Linked DNA regions of Homo sapiens: all the other regions are linked to region 1. The links are contacts of gene promoters, found by promoter capture Hi-C in blood cells and fetal thymus (Javierre and others, 2016). All regions are on one chromosome and are shown on one strand. Each heading gives the region's core, a stretch centred on a gene start or on the middle of the fragment in contact. The rest is flanking DNA. Distances are from core to core; before and after follow the strand shown.

Region 1 (5,010 bases), core at 1-2,500:
GTGAGCCCCGGGGCTCCCCGACGACCGCGGCGGTGACACGCGGGGCTCCCAGGTGACCCCGGCGGTGCACTCACAGGACTCCCAGGTGACCCGCGGTGGTGACACACCGGGGCGGGCGCGCGCCGCTTCCGCTTCCGCCGAGCCGCCCCCCGCCCCCCGCGGCGCAGCGCGCGCCCCCCTCCCGGTGGCGCGGAACCAATCCTGGGCAGGGAGGCGGCGGCTGGAGGCTGAAAGCGCTGCCGTGGCCCCCTCCCCGCCTCCGCCGCGCCCCCTCCGCACTCGCACGGCCCCACCCGCAGGCGCCCCCCGTGCGGAGGAAGCGGATCTGCCAGGATCATTTTTGTTGTGTCGGAGGATGAGGTTTTGGCTGAGGACTGAAGAGATGGCCTTGGAAGAAATGGTGCAGAGATTAAATGCGGTTTCCAAGCACACGGGTAGGAGGAGCTGCTGGCCGTCAGTGATCTGTGCTTAAGCTTGACATCATGGGCTGAAATGTGGGGAAATGCGTCTGATTTTTGTAAGCCGCCCTCGTGTTCCTTTCTAGCCGTGGTAGCTGTGACATGGGGGGCACTGGTTGGCAGCTGGTGTGTTTTCAGAGGCTGTCGGCGATCGTATGCTGCCCGGGATAGTCAAAATGACTGCACGTTGGTGACACTGGCTCTCTCAGGGTTGCTGGGTCTGCATGCGGAGCCATTTGTGTGTCTGAAGTCTGCCCATCAACCTGCCTGTCCGCAGCCCTCGCAATGGAGAATGCATTGCGAATGGAGAATGATCTGAGCCAAGGGCTTTCAGAGCTTGGGGTTTCAGAGCCAGGGGTAGGGATGGTGAAGCTACCTGGAAGCTCGTTTTGAGGATGAAAAAACCTGGACTAATCAGGTGGTTCTTTTCTTCATTAAATGCAATTTAAACCTAAGACAGATGTTTGAGACGGTATGGGTAAAGAGTGGACTGGACGTTCATTTTCAGTATTAATCGAAATATTACTTCAAATAAGCTTTGAAGAGTAGTTCAGATCGATTCTTTTAGGTGTAAGCAGAGACTGGGCTGACAGCTTGCATCTGGCCGTGGCTTTCAGGCGGTCGCATCTGAGTTCTCAGGCTGTGTTATGCAGAAGGGAGAGGCATCCTTAACTCGTTTTCCTTGAAATGAAGAGGAAATAATGATATATCATTAAAAGTAAGTTGCCAAGTGTTTTGCCTGATGTTGCCATATGTTATGTCATATATGCCATTACTAGTTGTCTAACTAGTACTTGCCTGGGAGATTAAAATGTCAGTTGCTTGGTTTGGGTGTGGTTCTCTTTCTCTGCCCACCCCGATGGATTCTGAGAGTGAACCAGTGATTAAATCAGCATAAGCACCATCGTATGGGATGGTCTAATCAAGATGTTTTTAATGGGGGCTTTTATGATCAAAGCTGCTGGGTTTATTGTATGTGGGTCGAAAGAAAACAAAACCATTTTCATGCCGTCTGCTCCCTGATTCTTAGAGAATCAGCTCTTTTTCTGAAGCTTGAGTGGAGCTTTTCCGTGCAGGGTTTGCAGGGTTTGAGTATGGTGAAGGGCTGCGTGGATGCCAGGTTCACAGGGAGGCTTCCGATCGGCTGTGGGGGTGGAGGAGAAAGCCCCCCTTGCTCTGCATGCCTCTGCGTGCCGTTCGGTGTCAGAGTCACAGAGTGGGAACCGCTCCAGAGGCTGATGTCATTCCCCAGGTTTTTAGGGATTGGGGTTTCTTCATGAGCTCCAAGAGACATGTGCGCATTTTTAATTGGAAAAAGGCTATCTCAGAAGAGCAGCAGTGACACTGTCTGCTCACTGAATGTCGTGCGAGCCGGGCGCTCGGTGTGGGCCATCGTCTCATCTGGAACAGGCAGTGAGATGTGCGTCCTCCCACACATCTGCATTACCGATAATTGCATGCTTCACCAGGACTTTCAAGTCCAGCTTACCAGATATCCTCGGTTATGAGCACCCTGTAGCGTTTAGTTAGGGGAGGTGACCCTGCATCATACTCCACTTACCACCCATTAACACTGGCCTCTTCCTTCAGCACAAACCCATTTTCTGCTCACGCTGTGTGAGGTACTGCTCAGCGGAGGCAAGTTATTAGGTTGAAGGCTGTAAAACCATCATGAGGGGGTTTATGATGCAGTATTGACATGATGCTACCACAGAGTGTACGGGTATGTGGTGCACATTCTCTGGTAGGGGTGAAGGTCAAGGTAAACCTGATCCCCACCTCGGGTTTAAATTCCAAGCACTTCCTCAGGAGAGTTCCCCACCTGCAGCCAAACACTCTTCAGCGGGAGGTCATGGAGCTGCTTCTCCTTCTGGGGTCATGCTAGGATCCGTGCCAGGTAAAAGCTGATGGCAACAGGACACTGATGTGGCGGCTGGTGTAGGTCCTCAGGGCAGTGGCGGGGCTAGGTCACAGCTGAGGGATTGCGTACAGCGGCTGGCCTTAGAGCAGCTGCCTCATTCAGCTGTGCAGAGCTTCACCCTCTGTAGATTCACCCCCAACCCACAGGCATTTTATCTTTGCTGCTGTCCAGGACATGCTGCTGTGTTTTAATTTCAGATTTATGCATTTCTTCTGTCACCTAGAACCTTCATTAGCTAGGCTAATCTGCATGTAAAGGAGGATAATGTGTGCTGTCCATATGGTCTGTGAATCTGTAGCCTTTGACCTTGAGAATTGACATTTTATATACTTTTCTGAACCTGATCTTCAGTAACAAGGCCAGGGGCACTTTCCAGTGGCAACTTCCCCCTGGCCCCCCTTCTATGTGATAGGGCTCATTTTCGTCTGTTTTGGTTTTCTCTTTGGAATTTTAGTCATTGGTGAAAAGGTAGAAGACATTCGAGGGAGCAATGCTATGGATCTAGTTGATTTAAGCATTCGATGAAACAGAACAGTGGTCCTCCAACTACAGCATGTACATGCGTCACCTTGGGGGCTTGTTAAAGCACAGGCTGCTGGGCCCACCCTCAGAGTTTCTGATTCAGGAAGTCTGGGGTAGGGTCTGATAATTGACATTTCTTAAGTTCTTGATGAAGTTCTTCAGGAATCAAACTTGGGGAACTACTGTGGTAGAAGAATCTTTAAATCTAGCCCCACCTTTTCCATTAGTTGACCTAATACTAACTCTTGTCATAGACAGATGATGATAGATGGATAATGCATGGATAAATGAGTGGATGGATGGATGAATGGGTAGATGGGTGGGTGGGTGGATGGATGGGTGGGTGGATGAATGTAGGGGTGGATGAATGGATGTGTGGGTGGGTGGATGGATGGATGGATGGATGATGATGGATGGATGGATGTGTAAGTGGGTGGATGGATGGATGGATGGATGGATGGATGGATAAATGAGTTAGTAGATAGTGGATAAGTGGGTGGATGGATGGGTGGGTGGATGAATGTAAGGGTGGATGAGTGGGTGTGTGGGTGGATGGATGGATGGATGATGATGGATGGATGGATGTGTGAGTGGATGGATGGATGTGTGGGTGGATGGATGGATAAATAGATAAATGGAGGATGATGAATGGGTAGATGGATGGATGAGTGGATGCTTGGACGGATGAGTGGATGGATGGATGGATGAATGAGTTGGTAGATAGATGGATGAGTGGATATATGTATGTAAGGTAGATGGAGGGGTAGGTGGATGGGTGTATGGATGGATGGATGACTGGATGACTGGATAGATGAATGGGTGGGTGGATGGATGGAGGGAGGGAGGGATGGATGCATAGATGAGTGGATGCATGGAGTGGAGGAGTGGATGGATGGATGGAAGGTGGATGGATGGATGAATGGATGGATGGATGGATGAGCAAAAGCTGTGTGCTGCCTCCTGTCCTTAAGCTCTTCCTGGGAAGGGCCTGTGGCCTGAGCAATGGGCTGAGGGACACAGCAGCACGGAGGGGCTTTGGGGGATGAGGGGGCTTCCCAGGACCACCACACAGGCACAGCTGTTCGGCACCCCCCAGTTGCAGGTCTCAGAGGAAAAGCTCTGGGGGGACGCGCCCAGGAGGCAGGGGCACGCATTTCTGTGTGGAATTGAAGAGCTCTCAGTGGAGTAGGTGCGGCTCCCTGGCAAAATGCCACCTGCTTATTAGCCAGCCCAGCGGTTTCTGACGGACGCCTTAGCACTCCCCTCTCACGCCTCTGCCTTCGGCCTCAGTGATTGGCGTCTCCTCAAGGAGCCATGATTTCTTTGTCCATTTTTTAAATGTGCTGAGGCCCTTTAGGAGAAAAACCACGCAGCCAAATGAGGTACGTCTGTGTGGGTTGCTGACTATTTTGTAACATGAAATTTAGGTCTCTAATTAGATAGGTGTGACTATAAAGTACAGAAACATTTAAAAAACAATTAGCTTTCATGGGATGTTGTTATGGATCTTGTTAGTAGGGATTCCGGAGCAGGTTTTAGAGATTTGAGCGGAGGGAGGCTTGTGAGGAAACCGTGAGTCCTCTGAGCATCCTTGGTGTCCTGTGTTGCTGACCTTCTGTGATCTGACGCCACGGCTCAGTGCTTCCCAAGAGCTCCTGAGAACGCAGCGCTCAGGCCTCCCAGCTGGGTGAGTCTGACGCCCTCCATGCGAAGACGGCGCGAGCACGGCTTCACCTGTGGAACCAGGGGCAGACTTATGAGCTCCCGGGGGTTTCAGTTCCGGCCTGCTCTGAGGACACTGGGGGGCCGGCCCTGTGTTTGCTTGGAGCGCCCTTCAGGGAGACCCGTGGCTCCAGGGGCTGGCGCTGAGTGACCACAGGCAAGGTCTCAGGAGTGAGTGATGCCAGGCAGCACCTGAGAAGGGGATGCCTGCGAGGTGTGTTCCGAGTTTCATGGGGACTTGTGTTGGCCACCGCCTCCTGAGTCACTGGCCCCTTTTCACGCTGCACCTGTGCCTTGGGATGGTGGCCGCCTTCCAGCGTCTTCCTGATCTCCGTCTTCAAAGCCGCTCCTGACTCTTCCACTGCCCCCTCTGACCCCATCCCCCAC
Region 2 (5,010 bases), core at 964-3,463, 390 kb after region 1:
CGTGGGCAGATCCCTTGAGGTCAGGAGTTTGAGACCAGCCTGGCCAATATGGTAAAACCCATCTCTACTAAAAAATAGAAAAATTAGCCTGGCGTGGTGGTAGGTGCCTGTAATCCCAGCTACTTGGGAGGCTGAGGCAGGAAAATCGCTTGAACCCAGGAGGCAGAGGTTGCAATGAGCTGAAATCATGCCACTGCACTCTAGCCTGGGCGACAGAGTGAGACTCCGTCTCAAAATAAAAAAAATAAGAAAATAAAAAATAAATTAGCCAGGTGTAGTGGTGTGCACCTGTAATCCCAGCTACTCAGGAGGCTGAGGCAGGAGAATCACTTGAACCCAGGAGGTGGAGGTTGCAGTCAGCTGAGATCGCACCACTGCACTCCAGCCTGGGCGACAGAGTGAGACTCTGTCTCAAAAATAAATAAATCAAAAAGAATAAATGAAAAGGAAAAATAAAGACACACGTTCCACTGGAAACATGTGAACATGCAGAGGCCACAGGGATGGGACATGATGCATTCGTGGGAAGCATATAGGATATTAACTTCCATCTCTATAAAAAATTTAAAAATTAGCCAGGAGTGGTGGCCACACCAGTGGTCCCAGCTATGCGGGAGGCTGAGAGGGGAGGATGGCTGGAGCCCAGGAGGTCAAGGCTACAGTGAGTGGTGATTGTGCCACTGCACTCAGAGGGATACCCTGTCTCAAATAAATAAATAAAAGCAAAAGTTGATCTTGTCACCCCCTGCCTGGAAAACCTTTAACAGTTGGCTTCTCTGTGCCTGGCCGTGGTCACCACACACCTCCGACCCTCCGCCCAGGTGCAGGGCCCCTGGTTTCATCTCTGTCCTTCCCCACCAGGTCCCTACTGCTCGGTCCCTGGAAGCCCAGCTGCCATTCACATCCCCCTTCTCAGGAAGCCCCCAGGACTCCCCTTTGACCCCACTTCTCTGAGTTCCTAGCTCCAGGGCACACTCCCACCAAGCCCTCACCCCAGGCAGACACTTCATTCATTCACTGAACACACAGGGAAGTCGCCTGGCACTGCCCCAGGTTCTGAGGACTGAGCAGTGAATGAAAAATCCGTTGCAGGGAGGAAGGGTTTTTGACTCCAGCAGGGGCTGTGCTGGGAAAGGCAGAAATGAGGAGGTGCCCTCCGCACAGGGAAGCCTGGGGCGCCCCGGAGGAGGGGGCCCTGCAGCTAACCCCGAGGCGGGCGGGCGGTCAGGCCGGTGCTCACCGCAGCAGTAGGAGGCCTGGGGTCGCGGAGGAGCGGCAGGTCGAGCAGGGCCCTGTGGGTCCCGTCACAAGGACGGAGTCTCGCTCTGTCGCCCAGGCTGGAGTGCAATGGCGCAATCTCGGCTCACTGCAACCTCCGCCTACTGGGTTCAAGCGATTCTCCTGCCTCAGCCTCCAGAGTAGCTGGGACTACAGGCAGGAGCCACCACGCCCGGCTAATTTTGTATTTTTAGTAGAGACGGGGTTTCACCATGTTGGTCAGGCTGGTCTCAAACTCCTGACCTCGTGATCCGCCCGCCTCGGCCTCCCAAAGCGCTGGGATTACAGGCGTGAGCCACCGCGCCCGGCATGGATCGAGTTTTGATCCATCCCGATATGGCTCCCTGCTGGGAGGGACGGGTCTCCTTCGCGTCCGACCCGCCGGCCCATCTCAAAGCGGGAAAACCGGTCCCTGCGGCTGCCCTAGCTCGGAGCCCGCAGCTTCGTCCCGACCTGCCCGGAAAGGTTCCTCCCCCTCCCTCCGCTCCGGGAGCCCGGACTTTGCCCGGCCCGTCCCAGCCCAACCCACCTGCGCCCTCGGGACCCACCTGCGCCCCCGGGACCCACCTGTCCGGCTCCTGGGGACGCCCCCGCCCTGCAGCAGCCGGGACCATTTGATCGCCCTGCGGGTGAGCGTGACCAGGTAGCTGGAGAAAAACTTCTCGTAGGCGGCGTCGTCGAAGTCCTCAGGCCGCTCGAATCCGTACGGGTCGATCCTGCAAAACCGAGAGAAGGAGGCCGGCGTCCCCGAAGTTTCCTCTGGGGGGTCGCGGGCCCGCGCGGGGACCGCAGCCGCCGGGGACGCCCGCACCCCGCGCCACACACCTGGGGACCCGCGAGCGCTCGGCGGGCTGCATGCGGGGAGGGAGGCGCGCACCGAGCGAGGCCAGCGGGTCCCAAGTTCGCCTCCCGGCTCCGGGGCGCTTAAGTCCTTCCGGCGGGACCGCGGGCGCGTGGGGGCGGGGCGGGGAGCGGAGAGGGGCGGGGCTGGAGGCGGGGGCGGGGGGGGGCAGGGCGGGGGGAGGGGCGGCTGGGGGCGGGGAGGACTTGGGGAGAGAGGAGGGGCAGGAGCGGGGGAGGGGCAGGGGAGCACCCAGGGCGGGGGAGGGGCGGGGCTGGGGGCGGGAGGACCTGGGGAGAGAGGAGGGGCAGGAGCGGGTGAGGGGCGGGGGAGGGCCGGGGGAGGGGCAGGGGAGCACCCAGGGCGGGGGAGGGGCGGGGCTGGGGGGGCGGGAGGACTTGGGGAGAGAGGAGGGTGGGGGCGGGGCGGGGCCTGCTCCCGGGGCTTCCGAGGCCGCGGCGTCCCGCGGGCAGAATCGGGGGCGCCTCCCGCAGAACCCCCGCGGCCTGGACCCGGGTGAGAGGAGCTTCTTCTGCGATTCCTTCAAACCTCAGTGCCTGGCCGACCCGACTCTGACACCTGACTCCTATTTTTATTTTATTTTTTATTTTCTCCGCTGCATTTCAAGGCCGAGACCAACACACAAATGAGAAGCCCCCAGGGGCGCCCGCCCGTTCCTGCCCCCCCAAACCAGGGACCGGGGTCCCCCCACCGGCGAGCCAGGCCTGGGAGAATCCGGGGCAGCTCTGGTTCCGAACGGCTTCTTCTCGGTCCGCATCCAATGACATTGTCCTGAGATTTCAGCTGCTTTTCGTGTCCGGGAGGCCCCGGAAATTTGCCAGAACTGCAGATTTTGAATTTTGCTCTGGCGACGTGGCAAAGGGGAGCCCCCAGACGTGAGGCGCTGGGGCGACCTCGCCCTGGGTCCCCCAGGGGTCTGGAGCGGGGGCTCCTCCGACAGGCCTCTCCCCGCCTGTAATTTAGGCCCAGGGCGACCTGGACAGGCCCCAGGAGGAGGCCGTCCCCGGACTCCAGACGCACTTTCCTGTGAGAAGCAGCCCGGCCTCGTCTGGGTGAGGCGAGGATCACAGGCTCAGCGTCCCCTGCGCGTCCGTCAGGGCCTTTCGGAACCAACTTGGGACCTTCCCATGGGTGTTTCCGGAATGTTCCATGCGAGCGCCACCCAGGAGCCTGGTCAGCAGCGTGTGGAACGGACCGGTCCCTAAGTGCGGACTCCCGCCTCTGCCTTTCACCCTTCTCCAGCCCTTGCAAGACCGGGGGGCGGGGTGGGGGTCAGTGCCCAGCGGAGCAGAGCCCCCGACACGGTTCCTCCCGTTCCTAGTCTGCTGGTTCTGGGAACTCCCCAAGCTTTCAGCCCAGCTCCTCAGCACTGGCCTTTGGTAACACGCGGCGTCCCTCATTTGAAAGATCACACAGCCCCCACTCTACGGTCTGACCTCCTTGGGATGTTTAGACCCAAGCCAGGAGACAGGGCCATAGCCTCCTGCCCCTCGGCCTACGGGTGCCCCACAGTCCAGGACTGACAGGTGGGCGTCCGTCCCCAGGGTCTTCGAACCCCGTCTGGGCTCCTCTCTGCCTAAGTCAGTGACTCCCTGAACCCCTCTCGGGCTCTAACTGACGCCCGAATTTCCTATATCGCATCCCTCGCGCTTTCTGGAGCAACAGACACAGTCCTGCTCCCCACTTCCCAGCACCCGGGGTCCTGCGCCCAAATCGCCCCACACCGCGCAGCTTCTGTTCCAACCCCAGGCCTGGAAGCCTCACGGCTCCCCTTTTCCCTAATTCCTGCCTTCTGGCCATGGAGATGGGGTTCTAACCTCCCTTTCCCACCACTGCCGTGGAAAGCAGCGTGGCAGGCAGCACGGACCAGGGGCCGCCAGCTCCCGAGCCTGAGTGTGATGGCGGGACTGCCACCAAGTGTATTTTTGGGCCAGATGTAGGGAGACTGTGGGGGAGCAGGTCAGATAAGAGCGGTGCCCTCCAGGAAGAGTGGAGAGGAGAGATACAGAGAGGCCAGAGCCCCAGGCTCTGTGCAGGGTGGGCAGCCAGACCGAGGCAGCTAGAAAGGTCTCCCGCTCCAGCCCAGGCCTGGCCAAGCCCCAACCTGGGACCTGACTGGGAGACAGCAGCTCCTATCTGGAACAGCTCCCACCTGGGACAGCTCCCACCTGGGACTGTGTCCCTCAGGTGCCTCCATTCACCGCCCCCCCGACCCCAGTGCCAAGCACCCAGCAGGCACCCGAGCATCCTCACACAAACTCCCTTTCTGTGAAGCCACCAGCACAGTCAGCCATGATGCAAAAGCCAGGTGCACACCCACCCCAGGAGTGACTGTGCTGGCCACAGCCGCTCCAGACAGCCCTTTCCGGGGGAGGCTTTGCAGTGCTGGAGCTCTGGGTCAGCTTGCCCTGCAGTTCAGGGACTCAGAATTCACCCTCCCCCGGGGGACCCAGCTCCCTTGCAGGAGGCCCTCTTCAGTCTGAGGGGCCTCAGGGGCCACACCAGGGGGCCTCTGTGGGGTCACCACCCATGATGCCCCTCCTCCCTTCAGGAATTCAGCCGTCTTGTTGCTTTTTTTTTTTTTTTTTTTTGAGTCGGAGTTTCACTCTTGTTGCCCAGGCTGGAGTGCAATAGCTCAATCTCGGCTCACTGCAACCTCCGCCTCCTGGGTTCAAGCGATTCTCCTGCCTCAGCATCCCAAGTAGCTGGGATTACAGGCATGCGCCACTACGCCCAACTAATTTTGTATTTTTAGTAGAGACGGGGGTTTCTCCATGTTGGCCAGGCTGTTTTCGAACTCCCGACCTCAGGTGATCCGCCCACCTTGGCCTCCCAAAGTGCTGGGATTACAGGCGCGAGCCACTGTGCCT
Region 3 (5,010 bases), core at 952-3,451, 330 kb after region 1:
TGATACACACTTTAGGACACAGTGTGGGAATCATGTCATCTCTGAACCTCCTTCAACCAAGATTTTGTCCAGCATTAGATTCTATTTTTGCATTGTTAAGCAGGTTTTTGTTTTGCACCATAAAACTGTAATATTCAGTATGCTTGTTCAAACACCTCTCCTACTTTCTAAACCCTACTTCTAGCCTCCTTAAGAAGCAGTGGATCAGAGGAGTCCCCGAATTTAAACCTCCAGAGTTTCGCGTAATTGTCTCATTCCACTGCAGGGGAGAAAATATAATTTCTCTTCTTTCTCTCTTTATTAGTTGAGACATTCTCCTGAAAACAAAATTCAGAGCAACAGGAGAAACAAGCAGAAGTTTATTAGCACTTGCTGTACCCATCGTGTGAGAGGCCTCAGTTCAGAAGTATTTCTCTCTCAAGGCATGTTGTGAACAGCACAAGGTCAGACATAACCAGGTCCACACACGTTTATGTCTTTCCACAGGGTGGGAATATATTGATGCTATTTCAATTATAAAAGCCACGAGCTACGAGGAGTTGCCTCGAGACAATTCCCTTCAGTACTACTTGTTAACTTGGTAGAGCCATGGGCAAAGGCTCAAGCCAGTCCACGTGTCAGTCAATACTGCAAACTATACATCATAGTGTACTTAAAATACAAACGCTATGGTTTAAACATTCCCCATCAAACAAAGTAACATTGGACATCAAGAGAAAGAGGATAGGAAAAGGGGTTAATGGATCAATCCAAGGAAAGCAATGACGGGAACAAGGAGTGTATTCCAGCCTGATCCAGACAGAAGTCATTGTCTTCCAAGGAAGTCCTTGATGTGAGCAGATCCTTAGGCAGCAGATGCAGGGTGCTAAGCACAAGTGACAGCAAGGTGGGGTCTATCAAAATGCCAGTGTTGAATTGGTCAAATCCCGCCCTTTTTAAGGTCACAGTCCTCTGGTGAGGACTGATAGTGAGTGCCTGGTCCTGTCTTTATCTGGCTGAGTGCTGTCTCTATTAACTAGGTGCACATCCAGTCCCCGTTGCTATGATGCCTTTTGAAATGTAAGATTAAATCTTTTTCTAAGATGTAGGTACTTATGCGACGGGTGCTTTATACAAAGCAGTAGCGTAGGGGCCTTAATTAAATAGTATTTTAACAAAAGGCCATAAATCCTATATGATGACAAGCCAAAAAACAGAGCATCTTCAGACTTCTAAAATGCAGGAGCCAGGCGCCGTGGCTCAGGGCTGTAATCTCAGCACTTTGGGAGGCCGAGGCGGGTGGATTGCTTGAGGTCAGGAGTTCGAGACCAGCCTGGCCAACTGGTGAAACCCCGTCTCTACTCAACATACAAAATCAGCCGGGCGTGGTGGCGCACGCCTGTAATCCCAGCTACTTGGGAGGCTGAGGCAAGAGAATCGCTTGAACCCGGGAGGCGGAGGTTACAGCGAGCCGAGATCGCGCCACTGCACTCCAGCCTGGGCGACAGAGCGAGACTCCGTCTCAAAAAAAAAAACAAAGTGCTCGACAGGAACTTTCTGTAAGCCAAAGAGTATCGCCATCGCACCTTCACCTTCACCTTGGGCAGCCTGGTGCCGTCTTCCCTCAGCCCGCGATTAACGAGCGGAAGGCCGCACTGACCCATTTCAGATCCCTTATTTCCTTCCTAAAACCACTCAAGAGTTTGGGCACAGTGGCCTCCCTGTGTGAGGAACTTGCTTCCCACTCACCAAAAGACAAACCCTTCGCCCATCCCTGGCCGCGCACCCGGCCGGTCACCCGCGCTGCCACCCACACCACCCTCCTGTCCATAAAGAGCCCGCGTTTGGGACGCCTCGCAGGCTGAAGGGAGGCCTGGGCGTCCGCGATCCGTCTGCCCTTTCTCCCCTCGCGGGCTTCCTCTTTCCTCACTTTCTCCCGCCACTACTCTTCCTCTTCCTTTTCCGCGAACCCAGCCCACTTCCCGTTTCAGGACCTCGGCTCGGCCCCAGTCCCCCGGACCAGGCCGGGTCACGTGGGTCCAGGGTCACGTGCCGCTGCGGGTCACGTGCCGCTGCGGGTCACGTGTCGGCCTGCATCACGCGTGAGGGGGCGCGCGGTGCTGGAAGCTGCCGCACCTGCGGGGAGCCGAGCCGCCGGCGCTCGACGCGCGCGCTCTCGCGAGACCCGCGGGATCACGTGACGCCCGGGCGCGGCGCAGCTCACGTGACAAGCGCTGCCGGCCGCGGTGTCTTCTTCGTGCCGGCGTCGCAGTGGCCGGGCCTCTTGCGTCTGGTAACGCCGCTGTCTCTAACGCCAGCCCTTGGCGCCCGCGCCCCGCCACCGCAGCGCCCGGCAGTCCGCGGCCCAACCGCCGCCCGCGCCCCCGCTCCCCGCACCGTACCCGGCCGCCTCGCGCCATGGCGGCCCCCGGCAGCGCCCGGCGACCCCTGCTGCTGCTACTGCTGTTGCTGCTGCTCGGTGAGGGGGTCGAGGCGGGGCCTGGGAGCGGCGGGACCGGGCGGAGCCGAGGTCCCTGGGTCTTGAGGGCGGGGGACTGCCGGGTCGTTGTCCCGCGGGTCGCCCCGCACCCACTGCTCCTGGTCCCGGCCGGCTCTGCCCGCGGGCGGGTGTTTCTCTCGGGGTCGTAGGGTCGGAGCGGAGCTCAATGGCAGGTGCTTGGGGGACCAGGAGGTCTCATCCCAGGACCTGGCTCCTCTAAGGTCTGTCTCACTGAACTCAGTTTTTCTGTGGTGGTGAGTGCGAAAGGGAACTTCCGATGGCTTGCTCGGCGGTCTGGTGCTTTCAGGTCGTTAAGTTTCCTGGCAAGTTGAGGCGGTGAGATCTAGACGAGGCTGCGCCGCCGAAGGTGGCAGGGACGTCTGTGGTCTCAGCTCCCGGGTGGGTGACCTAGATCAAGCTCTTCCCAACATGGATTTCACCCAGGACAGGGAGAAGCCGGTGCGAGCATTCCCCACCTTTGTACTTGAACCTTTCTCCTCTTTCAGCGGTGTGGAGGAGATGCGAGTGTATTTATGTTATTGTGAATTCACATGTATGTTAAAATAATTTTTAAAGTTATCTTTGGGATTTCACAAGATTCCGTAGTAGACAAGATGAGGGAAAGCTGGCCTCAGACTCACGGTGGCAATGTTCATGTCTAGTAAGTAGTTTAAAGAGCGCCGTTCCTGTAGGCCGAAATGCGGGACCAGGGAACACGTGGGGAAGCACCCTTCTCTTCTGTCAGTTTATAGAGCTCAGATGGGCAGTAGGTGCTCAATATTGTATTGACTAGTGAATTTCGTTCTCATTTATTGTCTTAATAAGAGGATGTGTGCTGTCTCTTTAAGACAGTCCGGATTGCCCCCCGCCAACACTATTCTTTCACCTCCTCCCCCCGCCGCCCTCCCCCGTAATATGAGAAGATTATCTTAAATGCCAGGATCTGAAAGGTGATGTAGAATCAAGCTGGGGGAGTGTGTGTGAGTTAAGTAGATATAGAAATACACTCCTGTACACATCTGCCTTGACTTCTTTAAATCCCTCAGTCCCATCCAGCTGTAAAACTCTGTTACTGTGAGTGAATGGATCTTGGCTTCCCTTTTTTGTTTTGCCTGTTGTGTAAAATGAATTCTTTGAACTGCCTGAATAGCCACAGAGATGAACTTATTCCAATAGTAAGCCTGAAGCCTTGCTCAGCTCCTGCGACAGGGTCAGGTGTAGTTAATGAAAGGAGTTGCAGAAACAAGTTTTGTCATGTCACAGCAACTGCATTGTTCTTTGTTACAGATGCTCACAAGCCTCATAACTTTGATGTTTTGTTTCATGTTTTAAAAACTCACTTCAGGCCGGGAGCAGTGGCTCACGCCTTTAATCCCAACACTTTGGGTGGCCGAGGCAGATGGATCATGGCGTCAGGAGTTCGAGACCAGCCTGGCCAATATGGCGAAACCCGGTCTCTACAAAAATACAAAAATTAGCTGGGCATGGTGGCGCACGCCTGTAATCCCAGCTACTTGGTAGGCTGAGGCAGAAGAATTGCTTGAACCCGGGAAGCAGAGGTTGCAGTGAGCTGAGATCAAGCCACTGCACTCCAGCCTGGGCAACTGAGGGAGACTCCGTCTCAAAACAAAAAAAAAATTAACTTTAAAAATGAAGAGAAAAAATCCATAACTCCCTAATATTGTGATTGGAATATTGCTTGTGTAATCAGTCTTCTAAGATCTGTTCCATTATATCTTTTATGTTTACAATCTTAACTTTTTTTTTTTGAGGCGGAGTTGCTCTGTGCCCAGGCTGGAGTGCAGTGGCACAACCTCGGCTCACTACAACTTCTGCCTCCTGGGTTCGAGCAATTCTTCTGCCTCAGCTTCCTGAGTAGCTGGGATTACAGGCACCCGCCACTATGCTAGGCTAATTTATGTATTTTTGGTAGAGACTAGGTTTAACTATGTTGGTTAGACTGGTCTCGATCTCCCGACCTCGTGATCCGCCTCCCTCTGCCTCCCAAAGTGCTGGGAGTACGGGTTTGAGCCACCGTACTTGGCCCAAGAATTTTTTTTTTTTTTTTTTGAGGCAGAGTCTCACTCTGTCACCCAGGCTGGAGTGCAGTGGCGTGATCTCCGTTCACTGCAGCCTCCGCCTCTTGTGTTCAAGCAGTTCTCCTGCCTCAGCCTCCCTAGTAGCTGGGACTACAGGTGCGCGCCACCATGCCTGGCTAATTTTTGTAGTTTTAGTAGAGATGGGGTTTCACCATGCTGGCCAGGCTGGTCTCGAACTGACCTCGTGATCCACCTGCCTCAGACTCCCAAAGTGCTGGGATTACAGCCATGAGCCACCGTGCCTAGCCAAAATCCAACTTTTAAAAAAGGCCTTTTAACAACTTGCATTTAAAGATATTTAAAATGTTTATTTTAATGTGCGATTTCACCAAAAATCCTTTTTTCTTAAAAAAAGAAACTGCTCAATTACAAATTTCCACTATATTAATAATTAGGCATTGTTTAAAGCTACTGTGTTTGAATACTTAGAAA

The links. The method cuts DNA at HindIII sites, captures the fragments that hold promoters and counts their contacts. A CHiCAGO score of 5 or more calls a contact.
Region 2: a contact is called between the fragment with the promoter of GRTP1 here and a fragment that was not itself captured in region 1, in 1 of 17 cell types (M1 macrophages). The highest score is 5.4, in M1 macrophages.
Region 3: the fragment with the promoter of LAMP1 here is called in contact with a fragment that was not itself captured in region 1 in 1 of 17 cell types (naive CD8 T cells); the score reaches 6.0 in naive CD8 T cells.

What each region holds. Positions count from the first base shown.
Region 1 is chr13:112,969,025-112,974,034 of GRCh38, forward strand. It overlaps MCF2L (MCF.2 cell line derived transforming sequence like), which reads left to right and starts at 190. Exons shown (of 30, transcript NM_001112732.3): 1 at 190-434. The coding sequence starts at 356. RefSeq lists a silencer at 66-125. The HindIII fragment of the contact is 516 bases long and covers 993-1,508 here.
Region 2 is chr13:113,361,917-113,366,926 of GRCh38, forward strand. GRTP1 (growth hormone regulated TBC protein 1) reads right to left here and starts at 2,214. Exons shown (of 8, transcript NM_024719.4): 1 at 2,104-2,214; 2 at 1,846-1,994. The coding sequence starts at 2,135. RefSeq lists a silencer at 1,798-2,092 and enhancers at 3,080-3,773, 3,774-4,467. The HindIII fragment of the contact is 5,619 bases long and covers 1-3,485 here.
Region 3 is chr13:113,295,038-113,300,047 of GRCh38, forward strand. LAMP1 (lysosomal associated membrane protein 1) reads left to right here and starts at 2,202. Exons shown (of 9, transcript NM_005561.4): 1 at 2,202-2,458. The coding sequence starts at 2,398. RefSeq lists silencers at 2,333-2,612, 4,917-5,010 and an enhancer at 2,843-3,022. The HindIII fragment of the contact is 11,770 bases long and covers 1-5,010 here.